Regions from separate parts of the Homo sapiens genome. Here regions 2, 3, 4 and 5 are each linked to region 1. Evidence: promoter capture Hi-C in human tissues and cell types (Jung and others, 2019). All regions are on one chromosome and are shown on one strand. The core of a region is centred on a gene start or on the middle of the fragment in contact, and the rest is flanking DNA. Distances in the headings are between cores, read along the strand shown. Region 1 holds the start of ISL1 (ISL LIM homeobox 1). Region 2 has its middle 190 kb from the start of LINC02118. Region 3 has its middle 22 kb from the start of LINC02106. Region 4 has its middle 110 kb from the start of LINC02106. Region 5 has its middle 290 kb from the start of ISL1.

Region 1 (4,042 bases), core at 746-3,245:
ATATGACTAGGTAAAACTCTATTTTCTGGCATTGTGGTGGTATCTTTTTTTTTTTTTTTTTTTACTAGGGTCAACATGTTTATCTCTATGGGAAACACACACAAATACTAGGAAGATTTGCTTCGTATTGAGATTAACAGCATCAGCTTTGCAAAAGCAGCCTGACAAAAGGCTCCATACATCTAATACCAGAGACTAGAAACAGACCAAAAAAAAAAAAAAAAAAAAACACACACCACACAACTGGTAAACTTATCAACCTAGGTCTATCCAACTTTCGCTTTCATACACGCGCTCTAAAACAACTTATAATAAAAATGGAAGGGAAGACAGATCCAATTTGAAATCCTCCTTGAGAAAAAACAAATCAAAACTAGTTCCTGGGGAAGAAAGCCTCAGCTAGGTCAGGAGGAAACTTACGCATCTTTGATTCCCTTTCCGCTTTGGAGAGGCATTACCCGTTCAAGCCCAGCCAATGCGGCCGGCCAGGATTTACAGCTCTTATCAAGGGTTAGATTTTGCGAAAGATATAAAGAAAGGAGTTTCCTAACACACCGGGTCTTCTCACAGCAACAAGACACCGAAATTAAGCCTTCTATGGTTTGTGTCTGTAGGACTTTTTAGATAAAACTGGCAGCCCCATTAGATAAGAAATGGCTTTTTAGAAGCTTTGGGGGAAGCGCGGGGGTTCTTCGTGGCCTTCCTGTGACTGTCTTTGGGAGACCGTAACAGATGATGGGAACATGTAAGAATGATTGAAGAAGGTTACCGGCGAGTTGCACCTAACAGTCTTCTCTCTCCAAGTAGTTTCTCGAGAGAAAATTATATATTAACGCCTGGGGACGTGAAATAGGTCTTTCACTGTTCTGTAATAAATCCCTCCCTACTCGCGCCCTTAGACTAATGCATTTTTAAAAAATCTCCACAAAGTCATGGAGACTTGTCCTTATAATTACCAAAATACCACAGCTAGTTGCACAAGTTTGCTTAAAAACAAAGGGCAGGAGACCAGCAGTGAGAAGAATTGAACAGTATATAAAAATCTTACAAACTTTAGACTACTGAAAGATCATTTCGCTCTTTGGCTTCGGGTTAGTGAGCTTCAATTCTAGAGTTAAACTGAGAAGCAGACCTCGCGGGTCTGAAAGACAAAAAGTCAGTCCGCGGAGTCAACTTCGGTTTACCGGTGCGTTCCAACCTGATTGTCCCAACAGCAAGAAGCGCCCCTTTCCTCCCACCCAACGTTTTTAGATATCTGAGGTTGGGGGAGACGGAGTAATGGTGTAGCAGTCAGGAAACAGTTCCTCTGGGTTTAATCATCCCATTCCCGATTCTTCTTCCCCTAGCGCGCCGAGCGCAGCCAGTTCTGGAGGAACTAGCCCTCCGGAGCAGCCAAGGCAGGCCAGGCCCCGGGGATGTGCACCACGGCGTGGGGACCAAACCAAGCTGAACGGCCTGCTCCAAGTTCCCCCCTTTTCCTAGAGCCCGGGAGGGACCTCGTCAACAGGTAGACCTACCCACCAGCCACTCGCCACCGGCGGCAGAAAGTGAGCCCCGCGCGCAACGCGGCCAGCCGGACTGCGGGGACCCCAGGAGCGCAGGGCGGAGGAGCAGCGCCACAGGAGGCGAGGGCGCAGGCGGCGCGGCCGGGAAGGAACGCGGGAGGGGACAGAAGGAAGAGGAAGAGGAGGAGAGGGAGGCCAGAGCCAGAACAGCCCGGCAGCCCGAGCTTCGGGGGAGAACGGCCTGAGCCCCGAGCAAGTTGCCTCGGGAGCCCTAATCCTCTCCCGCTGGCTCGCCGAGCGGTCAGTGGCGCTCAGCGGCGGCGAGGCTGAAATATGATAATCAGAACAGCTGCGCCGCGCGCCCTGCAGCCAATGGGCGCGGCGCTCGCCTGACGTCCCCGCGCGCTGCGTCAGACCAATGGCGATGGAGCTGAGTTGGAGCAGAGAAGTTTGAGTAAGAGATAAGGAAGAGAGGTGCCCGAGCCGCGCCGAGTCTGCCGCCGCCGCAGCGCCTCCGCTCCGCCAACTCCGCCGGCTTAAATTGGACTCCTAGATCCGCGAGGGCGCGGCGCAGCCGAGCAGCGGCTCTTTCAGCATTGGCAACCCCAGGGGCCAATATTTCCCACTTAGCCACAGCTCCAGCATCCTCTCTGTGGGCTGTTCACCAACTGTACAACCACCATTTCACTGTGGACATTACTCCCTCTTACAGATATGGGAGACATGGGAGATCCACCAAAAAGTAAGAGGCTATTTTACCTTGTGGGGCTCGGTGTGCTGTTCTTGTGCGGGGTTCTCTCTCAGGCACAGGCTGAGGTGCCAAGGGCTCTTTGGAGTTGGAGTCATTGCCTGGAGAAAGAGAAAAGGTGGCTTTTTCTTGTTGCCGCCACGCCTGCATGCTTACTGTCGGTTCTTATCTTCGGGAAACTGATTGTACCTTGTGTGTGAATTCGCCTGTGTGCCCTCCAAAGCTCTAGCTTTCTGGTGCTAAGCGGTGATTTCCTCCTGGGGAATCCTGAGCTCTCCGAGAAGGTTATTATGTTGCAAAGGTCTGCCTGCACAGTCAATGCCCAGAGATGTGAATTAGCATTAGACTTGCAAAAGAGAACGAGTGACAACTGTATTTATGCCTGCTCTTGCTAACAATATCCAGTCCTGTGTGCTATTTAAGAGCGCGCTTCACGGAAAATATAGACATCCCTGCGTTCACTTAACGCTTCTAGTCAAAACCTTTTCTTTGACTTGACTTATCCATAATCTTTCCCAATGATTATAGCAAAGAGGAAGGGGGGGGGGAGAAATACAAAATGAGCGGGTTTGATTGCGTGCTAGGCGTACAAATGTAGACTATTCCAATCTGCATTTTACATATATTCCACCTCCTTTTAAAAATGAGTCAAGGTTTTGATGGCACATTTCAATTACCATCCCAAAGTGCAATGCTCTAAAAAAAAAAAAAAAGAAAGAAAGAAAGAAAGAAAAAAACCTCCCAGAGTACGCCCTATAAGAGAACGACACTAAAAGTGTGTTTATCTCTGTAGGAAGTAAACGGTTAGTCAATCATGTATTTATTTTCATTTCAGAAAAACGTCTGATTTCCCTATGTGTTGGTTGCGGCAATCAGATTCACGATCAGTATATTCTGAGGGTTTCTCCGGATTTGGAATGGCATGCGGCATGTTTGAAATGTGCGGAGTGTAATCAGTATTTGGACGAGAGCTGTACATGCTTTGTTAGGGATGGGAAAACCTACTGTAAAAGAGATTATATCAGGTATGGCATTTACACTTCTTTCTTAATTTTGTGGGATTTCCCTGAATCTCCCCACTCTTTATGTATTATTTGGTGTGGCTTTGTCTTTTTGTGAAGTTTGCCTCAGTGTAGTCATACAAGCCAAAGTTACCCTGTACATGTGTTAAAAAAATCAAGCTATGCTGTTCATTTCATTCTTTAGTTGAGAAAAACAAAAACCCTTAACAGTGGTATTCATAATTCCGGGGTATTGAGGCTTGTTTAATTACTCTTGGAGTTTATGATGCACAAATTATTTTCCTCTTTCACCCTCCCCCTTACAAAACAAAATTTTAAAAAGATGGAGAAGTTTGGATTTTTAGCTTTAAAATAGGGTTGATTTTTGTTGTATAGTGCAGTGTTCTGTTTGTTTTAGTCCTTTTTAAAATTAGTAGCTTACAAATTCTTTGGTGGCATCAATGCAATAGGTGAAATAAAAGTTTGACCGAAGCATGTTTAGAGATGTACTTTGAAAGAGCGAGTACAGGTATTGCTCCTTTTATTTTTGGGGTAAGACCTCCTTCTGAGAAAAATTTAAAACCAACCTAAATATTCCTTGGAAAAAACACCGGAAACTTAATCTTTTTAAATATTAACCCTTTGGTGACATCTAACTGTCTCTTCTTTCTTATCTTATCTGAGCTGATGAATTAGAGCAGATCAAATTGCCCATCATCTGTCTACGAACAATTGGTATATTTAGATAATTGAACAGCTTCCTTTCTCACATTAAAATCTGGTAACTG
Region 2 (4,042 bases), core at 526-3,025, 440 kb after region 1:
GGCGGAGGTTGCAGTGAGCCGAGACCACACCTCTGCACTCCAGCCTGGGCGACAGAGGGAGACTCCGTCTCAAAATAATAATAATAATAATAATAATAAAATTAAAAACCAAAATTTAATGTTAGTTTAAGGAAGCAAAAAATACCATATAATCCTTTTTATATAAATGTCAGAAACAGGGAAAACTAAATTATCCTGTTGAAGGGTCCATGGGTGATACCACTATAAAGAAAAGCAAGGAAATGATTACTAAAAATGAAAAGGTAAATATCACCTTTAGGGAGAAAAAAGAGAAAATGTTATCAGGGACACATGACATTGTCTCCTGAAAATAATTATTCTCTTGCATATGTCGCTTACTCCTTTGACCCTCTCTACTTCTGACTGATTATCAGAATAATTCATTCCTGATTAATTCTTACTCAGTCGGTTCTATACCTGTATGGGAGTAGCAGAAACTACCCAAGGAAAACTTTAACCATCCATTGTCTTTTTTTATATTTATGACCATAAACCCAAGTGATTCCCCAGGGCTGTCCAGTAATCCTTCCACATTTCCACATTCAATTCACCCTCCCTTAGTCTTTGGTGGGTATTTTATACTTTCCCCTATCTTCTCACACCTCAACATTCTTTTTCTCTACCCTTTTAGCTGAGGACCTGATTTCCCTGGAAAAACCAAGACAAGTAGATGAGAAAGTCCTCATTTTCTCATCTCTGAATCTATCAATCTGTATTGGTGCCCATATATCATGCCTTTCTTGCTGCAAGAAAAGAAACTGTTCTGCCTTTCTCTAAAGCCAAGCCTTCCATAAATATTGATTTTAATTCCTGCTTATCGTTTGAAGATTATTACTTTGGTCTTTTCTGTTTTCTCAGCTACCCTATCAATTTTTCTGTGCTGGATCACTCCCATCATGATAGAAACATACTGAAAATCTCTCTTTTATTAAAACAAAAAAGAAAACCTCAACCTCTGCCTTCATCCTATAACTCTCTTTGATTCTGTTTCATTCTAATCCAAAATTTATTCTGTCTCCATTTTCCAACTCTTCTCTCTTTTCTCCTCCACTCAATCTAATCAAGCTATCATTTCCTTTATTCTACTGAAAACGTACTTACAAAGGTAGTGAAAACCCCCATAAAGCCCATTCCAAAAGTCTACTCTCAGTTTTTGTTTTATTTTATGCTTTAAGCAGTATTTGCCATTTCTGATGAAGCTTTCAGAGTACTGCCTCCGTTGTTGTTTTTCCTTCCTGACTATAGCTCTATGAGTTTTACTTTCACACATTGGGTCTTTCATTTATATCTGGACCTCTACATTCTGGGGTCCCCCGTATTTTAGTCCTCTGACTTTTTACTTGTCTCTATGCTCTCTCTAGTGATGCATATATCCAGGTATATAACTTTAAATATCATCTATATACTGAAAACTGAACATTTATGTAACTAACCAAGACCTTGCCCCTAAATGCCAGACTGCATTTTCCAAATACTGATTGGACATCTCTATTTTAATTTCTAATAATTATTTCAAATGTATTAAATAACTAGGTCAAAACACAATTCTTAATTCCTGCATCCCTCCCCACTTTCTGATTCTTCCCAGGTTCTTCCCACCTTGAATAATGGTATCACAACTTACACAAACGCTCAAGTCAGAAGCCAAAGAATCATTGTTTATTCTTATTTTCTCCTTATATTCTTCACATACATATTACAGTATAATCTATCACCAAATACTATTGATTCTATCTTCAAAATATAACTTGAATTCAAGCACTCCTTTCTTCCCTGATCATTTTTTTTTTCTTTTTTGGAATCTAAGCAATTTTGTCCATTCACATTGCTAATCACTCTCTGGTCCAAACCCTGTCTCTTGCCTCGAGTTCTGCAATAACATATCAACTGGTCTTCTGCATATACTCTTCACCCATCTTTTTGAGAAGTATTCTCCACATAGATTGAGCAATCTTTGAAAAGAAGCCAATGGTAAAATTTTAGTGTTGCTGTGAAAGAAAGGTGAAAGACAAATTGTTCACCACTGCTACTCCTATTGAACATTGTAATTGAGTCATAACCAATTGATAAAACCAGTAAAGGGAAGACACATATAAGGACTGGACAGGAAGATGCCACCTGTACTTATTTTCAAAGAGTATGATTTTCTACATAGCAGAATCACATAAAGTAATGAAAAAACAGCAGTTAATCATTTACAAATACCTATGGCAGAAATTGGTAGTTTTCCTCCAATAATTGTTCTCTGTCTTTTGCATAATAACAAAATGATTACATTAGGTGCATGGTCACTCACGTAAAGACATTTTCCAGTATCTTTTATGGCTAGGGTAATCATGAGCCTAAGTTCTGGCAAGTAAGATACAAGAGGGGAGGTGTGTTTTTTCTAGGTTGTGCTTTTAATAAGAATAAACATTCCCTCAGTTTTCCTTTCTTCCTCCTGCTGGTTGGAATTCAAATATGATGTGGAAACTGAAGTATTTATCTTGGCTCAAGATGGCATCCGAGAATGGCAGAGAAGTTAAATAGAAAGAGCTTCACCCTCTTGACACTGTGTAAAGCCACTCTGCCAGCCCAGAGATTGAATATGACCCTCTCATTTTTATATGCCTCTTATGGTAGCCAAATGTATAGAACATACGAATACATCAACAAATAAATTAGATAAATAGTAGCATTATTTTGTAATTGCTTTGACACATTTTGAATACATAAAATCTTAAAGATAAAATTGATATGTCCCATGCATCCTTACCAGTATCTTTCCCTCATTTCTCTCAAAAGGTTATTATTATTATAAAATGTGTTTGTCAAAAATATAACATATATTTATTAAATATTAATATATCCACAAACCATATAGGGTTCCATATTGGTTGTGTTTGCCTTTAAATGTTCCTTTAATATTTCAAATAATATGTAACATTCTGTAACTTACTTTTTCACTCAACATTGTTTTCAAAATTCTAATTACTTTGTTATGTATTAATCTAGTTCATGCATAAAAATATTTTATAGCATGATAGTCTACGAATGTACCACCCAATGTATTTATTGAAATTGTGAATTTTTGCATGTAGTTCAGTGGTTTATGAATGTCTATTACAGAGTTTGGCAAATAGTAGACATTCAAATTTTTTCTAATAAGTGAGTTAATTTATGTCCCTGATTATGATCATTTGAGTTGCTCCAAATTTTTATTGTTACACATAAGGCTACAGTGAATACATTTGGCCCAGTCCTTGTGTTCAAAATAGCTGTGAGATGAACTACTGAAATACAATTGACAATTTGCAGGCTACAAGTAACTTCAACTTTAATGTCAAGCTAATCTTTAAAGTTTATAAGAACTTCCTTGTCAACACCTTTTCACCAACACTTGATATTGACAATCATGTCTTTTTTGTTTAACCAATTGGATGGGGATGAAAATGCATTTTTCATTCATATCAATTCAAAATCATTTACAACTTTAGTAAAATTTAAGTATAAAACAAGAAGGCCGGGTGCGGTGGCTCACGCCAGTAATCCTAGCACTTTGGGAGGCCGAGGCGGGCGGGTGGATCATGAGGTCAGGAAATCGAGACCATCCTGGCTAACACAGTGAAACCCCGTCTCTACTAAAAATACAAAAAAATTAGCCGGGCGTGGTGGCGGGCGTCTGTAGTCCCAGCTCCTGGGGAGGCTGAGGCAGGAGAATGGCGTGAAACCCAGGAGGCGGAGCTTGCAGTGAGCTGAGATGGCGCCACTGCACTCCAGCCTGGGCTACAGAGCCAGACTCCGTCTAAAAAAAAAAAAGGAAAAAGACAAGAACATGCTTGGATCTTTTTCCAAGTATGTTGGCCATTTGGGGTTTTTCTTTTGTGAATTCTGTTTATATCCTTTGTCTAACTTTTATCTGGCTTTCTGTCTTATTCTTATTGATGTGAAGTATTCTCAGATTAATTAGATGCTAACACTTTACCTATTATATATATTTTTTCCTTTAAGCATTTTTTCCAGACACTTAAAATTCTGATGT
Region 3 (4,042 bases), core at 447-2,946, 390 kb before region 1:
GTCCCAAATAAGTTTACCTTAAGATAAGGGGATTACCCAGGTGGGCCTGACCTAATCACATGATCTCTTTAAATCTGGATTTAGAGTTCAAAGATTAGAGACGTCAGAGATTTGAAGCATGAAACCAAAGCATTTCTGGCTTGACGATGGGGGTGGCCACATGGCAAGGACTGCATCTAGGTGTCCAGAATAGCCCCTGCTTGGCAGCCATCAAAGAAACAGGGATCTCAGTCCTACAATTGCAACGAACTTAATTCTGTCAACCACAAAAATGAGCATGGATATGTACGTTTTGCTGAAGCCATCAGATGAGAACAGCCGGGCTGACCAAGACCTTATCTTCAGCCCTTGCAGTACCCTGAGCAGAGAACTCAGTCACTTCTGTCCTACAAAACTATGAGCTAATAAATGGATGTTGCTGTAAGCTGCTAAGTTTGTAGGATCTTCTTACACAGAAACAGAAAACTAATACGTGATAAAATTAGTATCACATTTGTATTTAATTTTAGCTCATGGCCACAGCAAGAAAGAACAATGAACTGACTCTTGAGATCGTTTGTTTGATACACTAGCATGCAATCGTTTTTATCTAGATACATATTTGTCATGCTTCAAGCTTCAGGAACCAACAGGAACAATGTAGATGGCATTTTCAGTAATACACTGATCGCTCTGCTCAGAAACGCTATCTAATCAGTGGAAGAAAATCCAACATCTTCTAGGCGGTTCTCTCCCCAAATGTTTCTGAGATGCCCTCAGTTGTGAGGGCTGCGTATGTGTAATCCTGTGGTTGGGTGATTAGCACGGTGGCTTTCCCTCTCAGAGTGTCAGGGCCCCTTTCTGAAATGCCACATTCCTTTATTCCATGCCCACCTTTGTGTTGCTGATCTTGGGCCATGTGCACCGATTGTTAATTTCTTTCAGGCACCTGCCTTTTCCACTGCCTGTGGGGCCCTGTGCAGTCTGTTGCTTGCTCCGAATCGTGCGCAGAACACGCAGGGTGTGATCTCAGGCCGTGGCCTCTGTACTTTCTCTCCCTTCCTTCAGCTTTCACAATGTGCCGCTGGGTCTCTGCAGCTTGTCTTTCTGTTTCTGGCCACTAGCACAAATCTTTTTCTGTTTCGGATGGGAGAGGCAGGAGAAAGGGGGTGATGAAGAGTAGCGCTTCATTGACCTCTAGGGATGAATTCTGGCTCTTTTTGGCATAGCCGTTGACTTCCTCAGAGTGTCAGGCTCTCCAAAAAGATGGGGTCCGGGGTGGTCAGGGACTGCCTGAAAGCCTTTCTACAAGCAACCAGGCCCACCTGCTGAGTCTAGCTCCCATCTGCCACTACTCACAGGGGTTTCCCCCTCAGAGGCTTAGTTTTCCTCTCTGAAATCCATTCAGCCATGTTTGTGTGGGTCTAGATTTCAATGATAGACACACCTTAGTCCTTTCCCATGAACTCCTGGCTTCAGTCAAACCAAGGAGGTGATTGGACATTTATTTGAGTCCCAAATACTTTATGATAGGAATTTGTTCACTAAAAACATAAAAAAGGGAGATGGGGGAGCAGTGTGAGGGCTGGGGTTGCCTAACTCTACCTACAGCTAGCCTGGCTGGATCTGAGGGGCAGTCAAGCTAGAACAACCATAACTCTTATTTAAATAGCATTTCTGAACTTTATCTGTAGACAAGCAACTAAAAACATAGCCTACACCTGGTTCCCCAGTGCAATGTGAAAGACTTCAGAAACTAAAAAATATTTATGAATTGCAAATATACATGCAATTACTAATGATTTCCACTTGATTGCAGTTCTTAGCTTCTAAATTTAGAATTCTAAATAATCAATCATGGACAGACCATCACTTTGTTAAATTTCTGTCACGACAATTAACCAGAAATGAACCATTGTTTTGTTTTGCTTTCTGAGAAAAGGGCATTTAGGAATTAAGTTTACACTGAGTGGATATAGTTGCCTTTGTTGTGCACCTGCAGTGTCTCTAAATGTAAGTAACTTCCATGGATTTAAACCTCAGGGTAAACTTTTACTACAGATGAATTATCTGTTGAGTTAGGAAGTAAAGAGATTAAACAATAAAAGAACCCATTTTACCATTGTGCACTTCCCTATGTGCTTTTGTGGGAAAAATAAATATCATAGGATAAAGGGACAGAAATGGATTATGGTAGAAAATAAATACAAAACAAAATGCAAGTGACTCTTCAGCTCTCAAAATGTCTCTGGCTTGAAAGGCACAGAGTCTGTTTAAGGTGTTCATTGTCTTGAAAGCTTTTTAATTTTTTTTAATTTTTAATTTTTTGAGTACATGGTAGGTGTGTATATTTATGGGTTCCATGAGGTATTTTGATGCAGTCACTCAATGATAATAATCACATCAGTATAAATGGTGTATCTATCATGTCAAGCATTTATCCTTTGTGTTGAAAGCTTTTTTAAAAAACATACATTTTATTGAGATATACTTTATATTAAATACATTATTTTGGCCAATTGAACTTAAAAAAAAAATAGTACCTGGTACCTTTAAAGGCAACTAACAGAGTTAGACTTAGGACTCTATTTAATTGTTTGACCCTTTCCCTGGAAGATAGTTTTGTGAAAGGATTAGCTTTGGCACCTTAAAACTACATTATTCTCTGAAAAATACAGAAAACATTGATGCAAATACTTATTCTTTAGCACAGCTAAAGTAGAATAATCACCTCTATTTTTGTTCATTAGATTACACGTTTAAAAGCTGTATATTAAATACCTAGTGACATTGTTATTTTTCTACTGTTATTCTTGGAAACAATCTTGTGAAGAATTTTTCTTGGCTCCTTTTGAGTTTTTCTTTCTCCCTCAAAATGTATGTGATAATTCATGTGCATGCATTCATATGTATATATTATCAGTTTGAACTGATTACATATTTTACAACCAACTAGATTATGTTGGTCTCATCATCTCACACATACTACCTTACCTCACTCATTACTCAACATACTGGCCCAAAAAGCTGCAATATCACACACAAATGCACACACACACACACACACACACGCAAACAGAATCACACAAAAAATAGAAGCCAAAAGAAATGGTGATGAGGTTTAGAGTTGTCATTGTCCCAGACATTCCTAATACTTTATAAAAACAAAAGTAGTATGTCTAATTTCTGCTTTAGGGTTGTTAAGTTGGATAAAAATAAGTCACCTAATCTTGCAGCTTTACTAAAAGTATAAGAGAAAAAAATGAGCTTTTTTCTTATCATTCATGAATCCAAGAATATTGGTGTGTGCAGTTCTGAGAAAACCCTTTTGTGTCATAAGTTTCAGAGTCTGGTCAATGTAAAAATAATTCTATAAGCCCTGTATCTACTGTCTGAAGCAACTATCACTTCTACACATGTTTAAAAAATCACTTATATCTGAGTTTTAAATCACTGAGACATGAAGTAGAATTTATTTTGTGTGGCTTCCTGGTGCCAATGACTCTATTCTTATTCTACACAGCGTTAGTATTGTATTACTGAATTAGACCGAAAATGCAGGATATGTTGCTGTAATCAGTGTCTTGCCATTAATCACTTCCCTTGTCCCTTTGCCTCACCATCACTCCTTCATGGCAATACCTTAGGGGCTATTTCAATTTTCCACCTCCACTGGTGGATCTCATGACCAAAGGGCTTGGTGCTGTGTGAGTCAGGGTCCAGATAGAAAATAGAAACCAATATCTGTATTTAAAACAAGGGAATTTCATGTGAGAATTGGTTAGCTAGAACTGAAAAACCCACCTGAAGTTGCAAATAAACTCATAGATGAGCAAGAACAGGAAATCACGTTGCACTAGGCTGCAGGGACAAAGGTAGGAGGGCTATTATCAGAAAAAGGGAATGTCTAGGATAGATACGACATTAAATAAAGTTTGAATAGACACAAAAAGCATTAAAGTATTAAGTAATGGCAACTGGAACTTTAACAACACTTCTGTCCTTCTGTAGTCTGTTGATATAGATTGGATGTGTGTCCTCTGCAGATCTCATGTTGGAATGT
Region 4 (4,042 bases), core at 1,151-3,650, 300 kb before region 1:
TGGAAGGGCAGCAAGCAAGGGATATCTGGCCCACCATCTTGTAGTATGTTCATATGCTTTGATCATATGCTTTTAACCTTTGACATATAGCATTTCTATGGTCAAACCATCTTTACATTCCTGGGATGAACTCAACTTGATCACATTTTACTATTTTTCTCTGTCCAATATGAAATTTAGGATTTTAGCATCCATATTCATGAATACTATATGTAATATGATAGTTTTTTAAAACTATATATTCATTCATACTATTAAAAATTATGCCAGAGATATGATTTAAAACTAAGTAGCTGAAAAAACATTACATAAATTTTTGTGTCAATATGGATAGGCTTCAAATATATATTGTTTAACGAAACAAAAGCCAAGTTGCAAAAAAAGTATGAATAGTGAAATCTTTGTATTTTTTTAAGTACGTTATATAGATATGGGAGTTGTTAGTAATTATTAACCTCTAAGGAATAGGTTTTAAGCCTTGGGTTTGGGCAAGAATTGTGTGTGTGTGTGTGTGTGTGTGTGTGTGTGTGTGTGTGTGTATGTGTGCACATGTGCATGTTTTACTATTAAATATTTTATATTTATTCTTATAAATATTTATAAATATTCTTGTACTCTCTTTGTTACATTTGACACTGGCCTTGGAAGACTAAGAAATTTTCTCTTCTATATATGACCTAAAATTGTTAAAATAACCTACATGTTCTTTATAGGTTTGAAAGAATTGATAAACTGATTTGTGAAACTGTCTGAGGCAAATGTTTTTGCTGATGCGAGTGACTTGTGATTTTCTTAGTTTCTTCTATAGCAATGGGTTTGTTAATTTGTTATTACTTTCTCATTTATATTTTAATAGAAAATCATTCATTTTAAAGAGTAAGATTTATAATTTCAGTATATTTTTATTTTACTCTGTGCAAAATAATTTTCTTACTTTTAATTTAATTGTTTTTGTGTCTGCACTTACAATTGTATCTCATTTTTAATTTGCTACTTTCCCAATGATACTTCTAACTTCATATATGATGATTTCTCATCATTTACTTAAATTAAGTGGTTATTAACTTTTCTATTACATCGGATTTCCCTATAAACAAGTAACTGTTGGATTGCTTTCTTTTCACATTTTATTGAATTTGCTTTTAACTGTAAGTCAGTTCTTCTCATATATTTTATCTTTTCTTGCTATTGAATACTTACATTTTATTTTTATTTCTTCTTGCAAGGAATTTTAAGACTATAGATTTTCTCTAAAAATAGTGTTGGCCAAACCCCATGGGTTCTAATTTGTGTGTGTTTTTTTCCCATTATTATTTTGTAAGTACTCTGCATTTGTTTTGCTTTGTTGACCAAAGTGTTGACAAAGATGGTTTTTAGTTTTGTTCTATTACTAGGTTCTTCCAAATCTCTTCCTTTTAGGTATTCTTTGTGCCTTTTCTGGTATAAGCAACTAGTAAACAGATTTTTTTTTTTACAAAGTACAATTTTAAACCTAATTTTGTGACCCTAAAATGTACATTCCTGTATACTAAAGCAATAAAAGTAATATGTACATATCTTTTTAAAATTTTATGGTCTATTTATTTGCCAGTGGCTTTATTTTAAAGACAATGGCTAAATGAACTTACATATATAATACATATAAAATATAATATATTTCATATATTAACATTCTTTAAAATATTGCAAGCTCTCTGAAATTGAGGGCTAGTTTAATTGCAGATTTTTTTTAGTGATGAGTAATTATATACTTTTCTATTAATGACATCTTAGTTTCAATGAAACATGGTATTATCAGAAACAGACATATTCTGAGATATAATTTTATATTAAAATTTAGTTCACTGCTTTAGTAAAAATCATGTATTATTCATGATCTGTTTGCACCTAACATTGGGACTGTTTTACAATATGCAATTATATCTTGATGGTGTAATTTAATCAAACTATTTCTGAATTCTTGAATTAACTTAAAAAATAGTATGTCACTCTAGAAAGAATACTGTACCAAGAGTCAGGATACACATCATTCTCTCCACTTTATTACTCTCACATCTGCTCTCAGCCCTTGCTGTATCCTGCCCTCAGCTCTCACCAGTGCTAACTCCATTCATCCTCTGCTGTCCTCACAGGCTCTTCTCTCACCTGAAACTCTGTGGGCAGCCTCTTCCCAGGGTTATCACACCACTCCAGTTACCTTGCCTCTTTTTAACCCTATTATGTTCAAATTATCAAAACACACTTTGGGAAACTCCTATGGGTGCCTTATCTCGATCCAGATACTGGGCTAATCAGAGTTGGAAGGATCATCTGATCTGATCCATACTAAAAATAAAGAAATTGAAATTAGATAAGTTAATGACCTTATCTCTGTCTCTCACCTTGAGCACCTTGAAGTAATCTATCATCAACTATCTCAATTTTTTTACTTCTGTACTTCACAGCCATTCTTTTGTTCTATCCAGTCTTCTCATCCCCTCTTCTTATCTCAGAAAAAGGAATGTACTTCCTCTCTGAAGCTAGTCCATCTATTTCTACATCAAAAGGTTAATGTTAATTTTCCTCATGCCATTTCTTTTTCCACTCTTTTTATCTTAGGCCTCTTTTAACTCATAGAAGTGTTTATTTCTCCCTCTTATTTTTGGCCAGCATATTTATATCTTTGTTACTATACTTAAAATCCAATGGCTTTTATAAAAGCATGAAAAATGTTCAACTTCCCACATAATTGTATAAGTGTAAGTTAAAATGACACAAATTTATGTATATCAGACAATCAAAAATTTAAAAGTTGTCAATACATAAATTAGCCAAGAGTTTGGATCAATAGGTAGCGTCTTAATGGGAATGGAAATCAGTACAACCTCTATGAATATAAATTTGGCAATATCTATCCAAGTTTAAAATGCAATTTCAAATCTAGAAAATACTCATACAATTGGACAGATTTCATTGTCACTATTTTTAATAATAAAAAAGTCACCAAAAGGTAAATGTACAGAAATAAAGCTTTAATTAAATATGTCATTGTATATAAATATAAGAAACTATGGTGAAGCTGCTCAGAAAAATTAAGTGATGAAATTGTACACACTCAAACATTTTTTGTTATTTTAATATCAAGATACAGAAATATATACACACATACATCACTTATATATGCACAGATGTCTGAAAACTACCTAAAAATTATTGCTGCCTCTTAGTATTATGGTTTAAAGTTTTTGCCGTGTTACTTTCATATTTAAAAAATAGCGGCCAGGCGCAGTGGTTCATGCCTGTAATCCCAGCACTTTGGGAGGCCAAGGCGGGCAGATCATGAGATCAGGAGATCCAAACCATCCTGGCCAACGTGGTGAAACTCTGTCTCTACTAAAAATACAAAAATTAGTCGGGCGTGGTGGTGTGCACCTGTAGTCCCAGCTACTTGGGAGGCTGAGGCAGGAGAATCGCTTGAACCCGGGAGGCGGAGGTTGCAGTGAGCCGAAATCACGCCACTGCACTCCAGTCTGGGTGACAGAGTGAGATTCTGTCTCAAAAAAAAAAAAAAAAAAAAAAAAAAAGCTTATTTTTATAGCCAATAGGGTGTAGTTTGGACTAACAGTAAAATCTCATCATTAAGTTCAGGCTGTTGTTTTTATTCTTGATACTGTTTACAATTCTGTTCATTGCATAAAATAAAATAGCGTCAAAATTAGAAAGATGCCCTCTTTCCCCCTAGTGTGTCTAGATCTCATTACCTAGAAGCAATCTTCATTAATATTTTGGTATCTTTTCTTTGCGAATATTGTCTATCCTTATTGCTCTTGCCTGGGCTTTCTCTAGACTGAGGACGCATGGTGGGAAGAGCTCTGGCACCATCCACTGTGGATCCACACCTTCCTGTCTGTGTGACCCCAGGCAAGTTACTTAACCTTAGGGTGCTTCTGTTTTCTCTTATGTTAGAAATGGGACCTATTGGGCCAGACGCAGTGGCTCACACTTGTAATCCCGGCACTTTGGGAGACCGAAGCAGGTGGACCACTGGAAGTCAGGAGTTTGA
Region 5 (4,042 bases), core at 645-3,144, 290 kb after region 1:
AGTTTAAGTAAATTGACTAAGTCACACAGTAACTGGCAAATCAAAATTCAAGCTCACATCTGTCAGGCTTTCAGGGCTATCATCTGTACATGATTCCACACTGTCATTAGTCCTTTTTGTGCCACTCTCTTTTTTCTGTTTACCTTCTGAATTTATTTTCCTCTAAAATGGGGAACCATAAAAGTAGAAGCAGGAAAGTAGTTAAGGTAGTGCTGTGGTTCAGACAACAGCTATGATGGCCATGATCAAAATGGTAGCAGTGGATATGAAGTCTGAAGATGAGCAAATTTCATATTTATATCAATCTATGAATATATTTTCTCTTTCTTTCTTCATTCCTTCCTCCCTTTTTCGTTCTCTCCTTCCCTCCGTCTTTTCTTTCATAGTCACTTGCACTCCTGCATATTTTTGTTAGTTTGCTCTTCCTATCATAAACATGCCATGCATTATGACATCTGAGTCATTGATAAAATGTTTGCAATAGGTAAGGTTGAAAACTGCACTCTTCAACATTTCACTTGAAGACTTTCCTTCTGGCCATGATCATTCTATTAATTGGCCATCTTTCTGTCAGTAACCAATTCCCCTGGATAAAATAGTCATCAAGTCCACTTTCCTCAACTTGTCAACAAGAATCTCATTAAAGCCTTTATCAGATGCCCGTATTTCATATACTTAGTGGATGGCATTATCTTAATCAACCCTTTAGGACATACCAGAGAGTGTGGCAAATTTGGTGTGTTTTTTTATTGCTTTAAAAGAAAACTTTTGTTTCTTATTTTTAAAATCTTATTCAAGGTATAACTTGTATAGACATGAGCCATTAGTTCCTGTCTGCTTTTAGTTAATCATGTGATTTGTACTGTCTGCACATGCCTTTTTTAAAAAATCTGAATTTATCTCAGAGACTCTTAGGCATTGATCTCTTCATGGGGAATTGGAGGTGGAGGAGTAATTTTCAGAAATGGAGTGAGAATTTTCTTCTTGAAAACCTCCTTAATTTCAGGAAATACGTTTCTGTTTAGTGTCTCATTTCATAAGTTCATATGTTTATTTCATTTTTCTATTTACCCTGGATTCTGATCATGCTTGGAGAAACCACTTGGGGTAAAGAACTCATTCAATTTTATTTCCCTTCCCTTAATTTGTTCTGTTCCTCACTGATTCCAGAGTTTCAGCTGAGATCTCCCTATTTCCTGTACTAACACTTACCAAGTTACATACATATACCTGTCTAAGACTCATTCTGCCATGTTTTGCTATGGCCACCATGTTTCTTATTCTCTGAGGTACTTGTTTCATTGATTATTCTCCCTCTCACTCTCTCTCTGTCTATAAGCTCCTACTTGCTACTTTGCTCTTAGTAAGTAAACTTACCTAAGTCTCTACCATTAATAATATACAAAACCTGCACAACGAAATGTCCACTCTCCGTAGTTACTCTTGTTTCCCTCTCTGCCCAATTACAGTCAAGAGTCTTGAAATAATAGACCAACCTCAGGATAACCACATTTCCTTTCTTCCTTTCAGTACTCAATCCAGTAGAATCCAACTTCAGATCTATTCCACTAAACTATCTCTGTTAAGATCACTAATGATACTCCTATTACCCTATCTTCATCTCTTCTCACTTGACTTTTTCTTTGTTATTTGACACTATAGCTCAGAATGTTGGATTCCAAGATACTAAATGTTCTGGTTACTTGTTAGTAGCCTTTTTTGTTTTTTGGCTTGCACTTAAAATATGCATTTTATTCGGTGTTTCATTTCCAGCCTTCTTCTTTTATCATACCATATTCTCTCCCTAGATGACCTCATTCAAATCCCAGGCTTTAACCACTGACTCTAAAATCTTGAACTCTATCTCATACTCTTCTTTGAGATTCAAATATTTAACTGTATATACTGTACAACTTTACCAAATTTTTACTGCTTGAAAGAATAAAGCTGATACTTCTCTTCCCATTTGGCTCCCTATTCTTATTCTTTCTGGATTTGAACCCAGAGGAGAGGAAGTATGACTAACACCTGATGAGCGTGCCAGGAAATTATTTTGAATATAGATCAAAAACTTGCATTCCTGGGCCACAGAATCAGCAGAAATAATCAAATGACCCCCTCTACTTTTCCAACCCTACGATACCTAACAATACCTCAATTTGCCAGATTCTCTACCTTTCATCCGATTACAATGGTTAGGTGGACTTCCTGTATCAGCTCCTACGCAAAGCAATGTTATGAGATGCCATCTGTTCTCACCTTTCCAATAGCTTTGCTCCTTCATATATTTCCTTTCTTCTGCATCATCAATTTCTCTTTATATGCATTTGATTATTTCCACCAGCATACCCACCCTCTTTAGTACCTGCCAGCCTTAGAGCATGACTTTGACGTCACATCTTTTTCTTTTTTTTTTAAATTATACTTTAAGTTTTAGGGTACATGCGCACAACTTGCAGATTTGTTACATATGTATACCTGTGCCATGTTGGTGTGCTGCACCCATTAACTAGTCATTTAACATTAGGTATATCTCCTAATGCTATCCCTCCCCCCTCCCCCACCCCACAACAGGCCCCGGTGTGTGATGCTCCTCTTCCTGTGTCCATGTATTCTCATTGTTCAATTCCCACCTATAAGTGAGAAGATTCGGTGTTTGTTTTTTTGTCCTTGTGATAGTTTGCTGAGAATGATGGTTTCCAGCTTCATCCATGTCCCTACAAAGGACATGAACTCATCATTTTTTATGACTGCATAATATTCCATGATGTATATGTGCCACATTTTCTTAATCCAGCCTATCATTATTGGACATTTGGGTTGGTTCCAAGTCTTTGCTATTGTGAATAGTGCCGCAATAAACATACATGTGCATGTGTCTTTATAGCAGCATGTTTTATAATCCTTTGGGTATATACCCAGTAATGGGATGGCTGGGTCAAATGGTATTTCTAGTTCTAGATCCCTGAGGAATTGCCACACTGACTTCCACAATGGTTGAATTAGTTTACAGTCCCACCAACAGTGTAAAAGTGTTCCTGTTTCTCCACATCCTCTCCAGCACCTGTTGTTTCCTGACTTTTTAATGATCGCCATCCTAACTGGTGTGAGATAGTATCTCATTGTGGTTTTGATTTGCATTTCTCTGATGGCCAGTGATGATGAGCATTTTTTCATGTGTCTTTTGGCTGCATAAATATCTTCTTTTGAGAAGTGTCTGTTCATATACTTCGCCCACTTTTTGATGGGGTTGTTTGTTTTTTTCTTGTAAATATGTTTGAGTTCATTGTGGATTCTGGATATTAGCCTTGTCAGATGAGTACATTGCAAAAATATTCTCCCATTCTGTAGGTTGCCTGTTTACTCTGATGGTAGTTTCTCTTGCTGTGCAGAAGCTGTTTAGTTTAGTTAGATCCCATTTGTCAATTTTGACTTTCGTTGCCATTGCTTTTGGTGTTTTAGTCATGCAGTCTTTGCCCATGCCTATGTCCTGAATGGTATTGCCTAGGTTTTCTTCTAGGGATTTTATGGTTTTAGGTCTAACTTTTAAATCTTTAATCCATCTTGAATTAATTTTTGTATAAGGTGTAAGGAAGGGATCCAGTTTCAGCTTTCTACATATGGCTAGCCAGTTTTCCCAGCACCATTTATTAAATAGGGGATTCTTTCCCCATTGCTTGTTTTTCTCAGGTTTGTCAAAGATCAGATAGTTGTAGATATGTGGCATTATTTCTGAGGGCTCTGTTCTGTTCCATCGGTCTATGTCTCTGTTTTGGTACCAGTATCATGCTGTTTTTGTTACTGTAGACTTGCAGTATAGTTTGAAGTCAGGTAGTGTGATGCCTCCAGCTTTGTTCTTTTGGCTTAGGATTGACTTGGCAATGCGGGCTCTTTTTTGGTTCCATATGAACTTTAAAGTAGTTTTTTTCCAATCCTGTGAAGAAAGTCATTGGTAGCTTGACGGGGATGGCATGAAATCTATAAATTACCTTGGCTTTCAACAGTGTCTTGAGATTTTGTTTTCTTTCAAAGCTAACCTTGA

The links. The method cuts DNA at HindIII sites, captures the fragments that hold promoters and counts their contacts. A contact is called where the count stands out against the background at its distance.
Region 2: a contact is called between a fragment that was not itself captured here and the fragment with the promoter of ISL1 in region 1, in 1 of the 25 tissues and cell types used here (H1 embryonic stem cells).
Region 3: a fragment that was not itself captured here is called in contact with the fragment with the promoter of ISL1 in region 1 in 3 of the 25 tissues and cell types used here (mesendoderm cells, small bowel and thymus).
Region 4: a fragment that was not itself captured here is called in contact with the fragment with the promoter of ISL1 in region 1 in 3 of the 25 tissues and cell types used here (H1 embryonic stem cells, mesendoderm cells and thymus).
Region 5: a contact is called between a fragment that was not itself captured here and the fragment with the promoter of ISL1 in region 1, in 1 of the 25 tissues and cell types used here (spleen).

The regions. Positions count from the first base shown.
Region 1 is chr5:51,381,453-51,385,494 of GRCh38, forward strand. ISL1 (ISL LIM homeobox 1) reads left to right here and starts at 1,996. Exons shown (of 6, transcript NM_002202.3): 1 at 1,996-2,247; 2 at 3,089-3,278. The coding sequence starts at 2,220. It overlaps ISL1-DT (ISL1 divergent transcript), which reads right to left and starts at 1,880. Exons shown (of 2, transcript NR_046243.1): 1 at 1,522-1,880. RefSeq lists an enhancer at 3,705-4,042. The HindIII fragment of the contact is 8,696 bases long and covers 230-4,042 here.
Region 2 is chr5:51,819,385-51,823,426 of GRCh38, forward strand. No RefSeq gene overlaps it. Among named protein-coding and RNA genes, the nearest start is that of LINC02118, 190 kb to the right of the region's middle. The HindIII fragment of the contact is 6,037 bases long and covers 1-4,042 here.
Region 3 is chr5:50,989,690-50,993,731 of GRCh38, forward strand. No RefSeq gene overlaps it. Among named protein-coding and RNA genes, the nearest start is that of LINC02106, 22 kb to the left of the region's middle. The HindIII fragment of the contact is 4,087 bases long and covers 1-3,740 here.
Region 4 is chr5:51,080,663-51,084,704 of GRCh38, forward strand. No RefSeq gene overlaps it. Among named protein-coding and RNA genes, the nearest start is that of LINC02106, 110 kb to the left of the region's middle. The HindIII fragment of the contact is 3,909 bases long and covers 447-4,042 here.
Region 5 is chr5:51,667,262-51,671,303 of GRCh38, forward strand. No RefSeq gene overlaps it. Among named protein-coding and RNA genes, the nearest start is that of ISL1, 290 kb to the left of the region's middle. The HindIII fragment of the contact is 7,640 bases long and covers 1-4,042 here.